Linked DNA regions of Homo sapiens: region 2 is linked to region 1. Evidence: promoter capture Hi-C in 16 types of primary human blood cells and fetal thymus (Javierre and others, 2016). All regions are on one chromosome and are shown on one strand. Each heading gives the region's core, a stretch centred on a gene start or on the middle of the fragment in contact. The rest is flanking DNA. Distances are from core to core; before and after follow the strand shown.

The links. Contacts are between HindIII fragments. The CHiCAGO score rates a contact against its expected background, and 5 or more counts as called.
Region 2: a contact is called between a fragment that was not itself captured here and the fragment with the promoter of NT5C3B in region 1, in 1 of 17 cell types (M1 macrophages). The highest score is 5.0, in M1 macrophages.

Annotation. Positions count from the first base shown.
Region 1 is chr17:41,834,982-41,838,907 of GRCh38, reverse strand. NT5C3B (5'-nucleotidase, cytosolic IIIB) reads left to right here and starts at 2,676. Exons shown (of 9, transcript NM_052935.5): 1 at 2,676-2,726; 2 at 2,951-3,049; 3 at 3,636-3,705; 4 at 3,792-3,838. The coding sequence starts at 2,715. KLHL10 (kelch like family member 10) reads right to left here and starts at 1,083. Exons shown (of 5, transcript NM_152467.5): 1 at 782-1,083. The coding sequence starts at 975. RefSeq lists an enhancer at 2,073-2,152 and silencers at 2,573-2,952, 3,083-3,192. The HindIII fragment of the contact is 15,142 bases long and covers 1-3,926 here.
Region 2 is chr17:41,740,922-41,744,847 of GRCh38, reverse strand. No RefSeq gene overlaps it. Among named protein-coding and RNA genes, the nearest start is that of HAP1, 8.2 kb to the right of the region's middle. The HindIII fragment of the contact is 1,627 bases long and covers 1,231-2,857 here.

The DNA.
Region 1 (3,926 bases), core at 1,427-3,926:
AGACCAGCCTGAGCGACATGGCAAAACCCTGTCTCTACTAAAAATACAAAAATTAGCCGGGCGTGGTGTCAGGCGCCTGTAATCCCAGCTACTTGAGAGGCTGAGGTGGGAGAATGGATTGAACTGGGGAGGCGGAGTTTGCAGTGAGCCGAGATGGCGCCATTGCACTCCAGCCTGGGTAACAGAATGAGACTCATCTCAAAAAAAAAAGACAAAAATCAGATCTCTCAAGAGCAAAAGGAAAAAAAAAAACAAAACAAACAAAAAAAAAAAAGAGAGAAAAAAGGCCCTGACCCTAGTCATGCCTCTTCAGAAGGCAAAGGAGCCAGGCAGGAGCTCCTGCCTGGACCAGAGTTGGCCAGGCACAGTGGTAATCCCAGCACTTTGGGAGACTGAGGCAGGAGGATCGCTTTGGGCCAGGAGTTCAAGACCAGCCTGGGCAACATAGCGAGACTCCCTCTCTACAGAACATTTCAAAAGTAGCCGGACGTAGCAGCATGTGCCTGTAGACCTAGCTACTTGGGAGGCTGGAGTAGGTGGATTGTTTGAGCCCAGCAGTTGAAGGCTGCAGTGAGCTATGATTGCATCACTACACTCCAGCCTGGGTGAAAGAATGAGAGCTTATCTCTAAAAAAAAAATTTTTTTTTAATTTTTAAGGAGCCCAGAGCTTTGACAGTGTCCCTAAAGTTAAGGTGATGGGGTGGGAAACAGAAAATGGATCAAAGTGTCTCAAAATGAGCCCAATTACCCCTTTGGCTGAATTTGGCAACCCTGTTATACCTAAAGTAGGAACTGCAGCTACAGAGGATGTTCTTATGGGCACTGAACTCAAAGCCATTGACCTTGATGACCACGTCGCAGAGCTTGCCCTCTAGTCTAAGCTCGTTGAAGATCTCACAGGCCATCGCACTCATCTTCCTCTCCATGTGAGGCTGGTGGAAACGTGTGGAGGCCGCCGCGCTCTCCATCTCCATGGCACCCTGGGACAGCGGAGAGAGGCTGCTTTCCTAGGGTGTCGGGGAGGGTTGTGGGGGGCCCCTTTAGCCAGCTGTCGCTCCTTTTCCCTACTACATCTTTTGTATAGGGTCTATCAGGCAACCCAAGTTCCAGAATCCTGGCCCTGCAGTGAGATCACACAGGATTGTGCTCTCAGGTTCTGGAACTGCCTCCTGGACTTGTCCTCTTCCTTCTCCCCTCCTTACCACCCCACTTAGGCTGAAAACCACCTCACACCTCCTTCTGTGTCCTTGAACCCAAAACAGAACCATGACCACTAGCACCATCTGAGTGTTTATTGATTCCAGCTCCTGTTACTCACCTGATACAGGTCTCTATCCCTGGAGCATTCATCTACCTTCCACAGCCCAACACTTGGCTCCCTAGACACCGAACTCAAGGAAATCCAAGTCAATTGAGGCTGAAGGGAGAAGTAAAACTGATTAAATTTCTTTCTTAGGCCGGGCGCAGTGGCTCACACCTGTAATCCCAGCACGAGGTGGATGGATCACAAGGTCAAGAGATCAAGGCCATCCTGGCCAACATGGTGAAACCTCGTCTCTACTAAAAATACAAAAATTAGCTGGGCGTGGTGGCACATGCCTGTAGTCCCAGCTACTTGGGAGGCTGAGGCAGGAGAATCGCTTCAACCCAGGAGATGGAGGTTGTAGTGAGCCGAGATCGCTCCACTGCACTCCAGCCTGGCGACAGAGTGAGACTCCATCTCAAAAAAAAAATCTTTCTTTTTCTAGGGACGGGTCTCGCTCTCTCACCCAGGCTGGAGTGCAGTGGTGTGATCATAACTCACTACAGCCTCGACCTCCTGGGCTTAAGTGATCCTCCCACCTCAGCCTCCTGAATAGCTGGGATTACAAGTGCTCCGCACCGTGCCCAGCCAACGCTGATTACATTTCAGAAAGCTGTCCCGGGTCTCCCAGCCCGCTGGATGGGTTAGTCACTCAGTTTCTTCTGGAATGAGGAATGGCCTAGTTAACAGAGCCCTTTCTGGGTGATTAACAGAATTCAGTTTATGGCTCCTTCATCTCTCCTCCCATCCAGCCGTGTGGTTTTTCTGTTTTTGTTTCTGAGACAGGGTGTCATCTGTCACCCAGGGTGGAGTGCAGTGGTATGATCTCGGCCTACTGGAGCCTGGATCTCCCGGGCTCAAGTGATCCTCGTGCCTCAGCCTCCCGAGTAGCTGGGACTACAACAGGTGCGTGTCACCATGCCCGGCTAATTTTTGTATTTTTTGTAGAGACAGGGTTTCGTCATATTGCCCAGGCTGGTCTCGAACTCTTCGGCTCAAGCGATCATCCTGCCTCGGCCTCCCAAAGTCCTGGGATTACAGGTATGGGCCACCGCGCCCAGCCCCAGTCATGTTTTTGTCACAAACTTTCAGCCTGGAAATGACCACGTTTGGCAAGGCTTTTCCTCCACAAAGAGTGGCAGAACCCTACCTACCCACGTAACCCCAACACCTTGGGACCTTCACCCTGCTCTTCATAATAAATAGAACCCTCCTCCAGTTTGCCTAGCGCAACCGGCAAGCCCACCCGGATCGCGGCCATCTCCGGGACCGCTCGATTCTCGGCCCCACCCCCGCCCCGCCCCCGGCCCCACCAACCCCCGCCCGGGCTCCAGGCGGGAGGCGACGCCTGCGCAGTGCGGTCGCGGGGCTGTCGTTGTCCCGCGAGCCGCCGACCAGGCCTCGAACGGGATGGCAGAGGAGGTGAGGAGGGAGGAAGCGTCCGGAGTGGGGCGGGCCCGGACTCCGACCCCCGGGGCGCTTCGAGCCCCCCAGCTGGTCACCGAGGCACCGCCGCTTCACCCAGGCCAGTAGCCGCCCCCTCGCGCACCCCGGCCCCGCCTCACACGCGCGCCCGAGCGAGCCCCGGGCTCCCCTCGGGCCCAGCGTGGCGCAGGGGTCAGTGGTTCTCTCGGGTCTCGGGACAGGTGAGCACCCTGATGAAGGCCACGGTCCTGATGCGGCAGCCTGGGCGGGTGCAGGAGATCGTGGGCGCCCTCCGCAAGGGCGGCGGAGACCGGTTACAGGTACCTCTGGGGCGTGCGGGGGCCGGCCGGGCTGGGGGCGGCTGGAGAGGCTTCCTGCCCATTGGGCCTTCCCGCTTTGCTCTGCCGCGGACCCCTCCTAGCTCTCTGCCCCAAGAAATGGCCGGGAGCTTGAAGGAGAGCGGGTTGGTTCGCCTGTCCTAAAACCCAAATTTCAGATTTCTCAATATGGTCATGCTGCTTCCTCTAATTGGACAGAAGGCGCCCACACCAGTACCTAGGGCCTTATCCTCCCCAAGCCAGCGGCTCCCCAGTAAGTTGAAGATGTCCAGATGGGCCGTAATGGTAGAGATCTCTTAGGAGGGACCTGATATTGAAGGAGTCAGAGGGGTCCTGAGTATTCACCCTTGCCCCCACACTAGGAGACTGCGTTTTCCTCAGGGTTAACGGGTACTAATTAGGATCACTTCCCCTCTATCCCTCTGTGTCACTCGGTAACTCCCCTAGGGCTTTGCCTACATCCTGGCCACTGAGCTGTATTGATTTCCATAATCATCCCCCAGGCTGAGGCAGGGCCACACTAGAATTCTGGTGCCTATTTAGGCATCATCTCTCTTTTGCCTTATAGGTGATTTCTGATTTTGACATGACCTTGAGCAGGTTTGCATATAATGGAAAGCGATGCCCTTCTTCTTACAGTAAGTCACATTCTAGCTTCCCTTGTTGAGCTTGACAAGACGATGGGTTCTAAGGGACAAGTAAAAGGAGTTTTCTCTTTTTCCAGATATTCTGGATAATAGCAAGATCATCAGTGAGGAGTGTCGGAAAGAGGTGGGTTGCTCCCGTCCTTTGCTCAGAAATGGTTGTCATTTGCTACTTCAAATGGTTCCTGATTGGAACCAAAGATTCCAGTATAGAG
Region 2 (3,926 bases), core at 795-3,294, 93 kb after region 1:
AAAAAAAATTAGGCTGGGCGCGGTGGCTCATGCCTGTAATCCTAGCACTTTGGGAGGCTGAAGCAGGTGGACCACCTGAGGTCAGGAATTTGAGACCAGCCTGGTCAACATGGTGAAACTCCATCTCTACTAAAAATGCAAAAATTAGCCGGGCATGGTGGCATGTGCCTGTAATTCCAGCTACTCGGGAGGCTGAGGCAGGGAATTGCCGGAACCCGGAGGTGGAGGTTACCACGAGCTGAGATTGTGCCACTGCACTCTAGCCTAGGTGACAGAGTGAAACTCTGTCTCAAAAAAAAAAAAAAAAAAAAAAAGGCTGGGCGCAGTGGCTCACGCCTGTAATCCCAGCACTTTGGGAGGCCAAGGCAGGCTGATCACGAGGTCAAGAGATTGAGACCATCCTAGCCAACATGGTGAAATCCTGCCTCTACTAAAAATACAAAAATTAGCTGGGCGCGGTGGTGTGCACCTGCAGTCCCAGCTACTCGGGAGGCTGAGGCAGGAGAATTGCTTGAACCTGGGAGGAGGAGGTTGCATTGCAATGAGCCAAGAACGCGCTACTGCACTCCAGCCTGGCGACAGAGAGAGACTCTGATTCAAAAAAAAAAAAAGTTTTTTTTAATAGAGACAGGATCTCATTATGTTGCCCAGGCTGGTCTTGAACTCCTGGCTTCAAGCGATCCTCCTGCCTCAGCCTCCCAAAGTGCTGGGATTCCAGGTGTGAGCCACTGCACCTGGCCAACAGCCACCACTGTTGAGGGAGCTCTTGGAGTGCAACTTGGTGTGTGTGGTCTCATTTGTTCTCGAATGAACCCTGTGATATAGGCGGTCTTATCCCCATTTCACATGTGGAGAAACCGACTGCAGCAGGACAGAGCTGCCTGCTGGATTTAAAGCTACAGGGCAGGGGGCAGGTGGACTTTGAGCCCAGGTGTGTCCCTGGGCTTCCTGTTAGGCCCAACTCCAGGTGGTCCTCAGGGAGCTGAGGATTGGAGGGTAGTGGAGAATGCCTGATCCCCATCACAACCTGTCCTGGCTCCTCCTGCCTGTCTGTTCCTAGGTCTGCCATGGCACTCTGATGCCCTGGAATGGAAGGGACCTCTAGGCTCTGCCTGCTTGGCCCTGCCCTACCTCTGCCTGGCTTTGCCCACTCTGCCCTCCACTGTGGAGAGAAGGGGGTGAGGATTCCTTTCCCCTCCAAGAGCCAGCTGGGGAGTCAAAGGGGAAGCTTTTGCTAAGCACGTACTATGTGGCTGCTAAGTGCCTTACTTTCCTTATCCCACTTAATAGGAAGTCTTTACTAAGCAGGACTTATGATTCGTTATCCCCATTTTACAGATGAGGGAAACTGAAAGCCAGGGAGGTCTTATAAAAATCTCTGGCCAGGCGCGGTGGCTCATGCCTACTGTAATCCCAGCACTTTGGGAGGCCGAGGCGGGCAGATCACTTGAGGTCAGGAGTTTGAGACCAGCCTGGTTAACATGGTGAAATCCATTTCTACTAAAAATACAAAAAATTAGCTGGTCGTGATGGCGCGCACCTGTAATCCCAGCTACTCAGGAGGCTGAGGCAGGAGAAGCGCTTGAACCCAGGAGACAGAGGTTGCAGTGAGCTGAGATCGTGCCATCGCACTCCCGTTTGGGCAACAAAAGCGAAACTCCGTCTCAAAAAAAGAAAAAAAAAGAAAAAAAAATTTCTGCCAAGGGGCCGGCAAGGTGGCTTACGCCTGTAATCCCAGCGCTTTGGGAGGCCGAGGTGGGCGGATCACTTGAGGTCAGGAGTTCGAGACCAGCCTGGTCAACATGATGAAACCCCGTCTCTACGCCGGGCATGGTGGCTCACGCCTGTAATCCCAGCACTTTGGGAGGCCAAGGCGCGTGGATCACCAGGTCAGGAGATTGAGACCATCCTGGCTAACATGGTGAAATCCCGTCTCTACTAAAACATACAAAAAAATTAGCCAGGTGTGGTGGCGGGCGCCTGTAGTCCCAGCTACTCAGGAGACTGAGGCAAGAGAATGGCATGAACCTGGGAGGCAGAGCTTGCAGTGAGCCAAGATCACGCCACTGCACTCCAGCCTGGGTGACAGAGCAAGACTCTGTCTCAAAAGAAAAAAAAAAAAAGAAAGAAAGAAACCCCGTCTCTACTAAAAATACAAAAAATTAGCTGGGCGTGGTGGTGTGTGCCCGTAATCCCAGCTACTCGGGAGGCTGAGGCAGGAGAATCACTTGCACCCGGGAGGCGGAGGTTGCAGTGAGCAGAGATCATGCCATTGCACCCCAGCCTGGGCGATAGAGTGAGGCTCCATCTAAAAAAAAAAGAAGAAAAAAACCTCTGCAAAGACTCTCTGTGATGTCTACTGTTGAGTGAGAGCTGAGAGGTTGAGAGGTCAGGACAGCAGTGAACATCTTCCACTTTGGAGACCACTTGTAGCAGTGAAGGGCCCAGCCAGGCCCTGAGGGCATCCCTGGTGCCACTTTGCCCCACCTACACCATGACAGCCTGCCCTCCAGACTAAGGAATCAGCGCACGTTGCTGGAGCCCCTGCTAGGTATGAGGTGCCCAGGTGGGGTGACCACAAGCATGTGAGGAGCTGTCTGTGTTCTTGATGCTGTAGCTTTTGGTCAAGCTGAGACCTCTACACACGGGAGAGTGTCAATGACCACCTGCGAGGCAGCCCAAGGCCCTCCTGTAGCCCAATGGGCGTGATGTGGTTGGAGAAGGTGAAGGATGCTCTGGGCTTCCTGGAGGAGGGTTTGGGGAGAGCTGGGCCTTGAGGAAGCGCCTGGGGTCAGGGTGTTGCCTGCTCTCCTAGTTTGCTAAGTTATCCGGTAAGTATTTATCGAGCGCTCAAGCTTGCTAGCCTGCACCAGGCTCTGGAATGCACAGATGAAGACTGCCAACCCCTGCCTTGAGTGGGGCCCACAGGTGAGAAATCAGTGTTTATAGCCCAGGTCAAAGAAAGAGACAGACACATAGAGGAGAGGAACGTTTACTTATGAGGAGTAAAGGGGGTTCCTTTTCAGAAGGCCTGGCGGGGCAGATACAAAACACGGCAAGGATGTAAAGGAAAGCCTGACATTATCCGTTCTGCCATGGGAACCACAACGATTTCACTACCTTATCACAAAGGTCATGACTTAGCTTTAGGAATAGGCTTATTTTTTGTTAGGGAGTTCAGATTTATTTGTTTGTTTCTTTGTTTATTTATTTATGACAAGGTCTTGCTCTGTCATCCAGGCTGGAGTGCAGTGGCGGGAAGACGGCTAACTGCAGCCTTGACCTCCTGGGCTCAAGCAATCCTCCTGCCTCAGCCCCCGCAAGTAGCTGGGACTACAGGCGTGCACAATCATGTCCATCTAATTTATGTATTTTTGTAGAGACAGGGTTTCACCATGTTGCCTAGGCCGGTCTCAAACGCCTGGGCTCAAGCAATCTGCCTGCCTTGGCCTCCCAAAGTGCTGGATTACAGGTGTGAGCCACCGCGCCCGGCCAGGAGTCCAGGTTTATGGTGAAAACTCAGTCTTTCTTATTTTGAAGACTGGAACCAGTCAGGATGATTCTGTTATTTCGGATTTATGTCAGAGTACAAGTGTTTCCCTCTGAGCCCATCAAGCATGGGCCAAGGCAGGCTCAGATACTAAAAGCTGGGCACAGAAGCCCTTCTTGCTTTTGCCCCAGTGTGTGGAAGGCTGAGGTAGAGGGAAGCACATTGGATCTGGGAGGCAGGGACCCAGATCCAGCCAGGTTAGATCAGGGGAGGCTCCCAAGACTGGGTGGCGTCTGAGCTGAGGCTTGAAGAAGGAAGAGCGGACATAGCGTCTGCAAAAGGCACTTGGTATTTGTCCTTCCTTTATCTCCATCCTCTGGCAGGATTCCTCCAGAGGCCATGGGGCAGATGCCCACGGTGGGCATCTAATTTATAA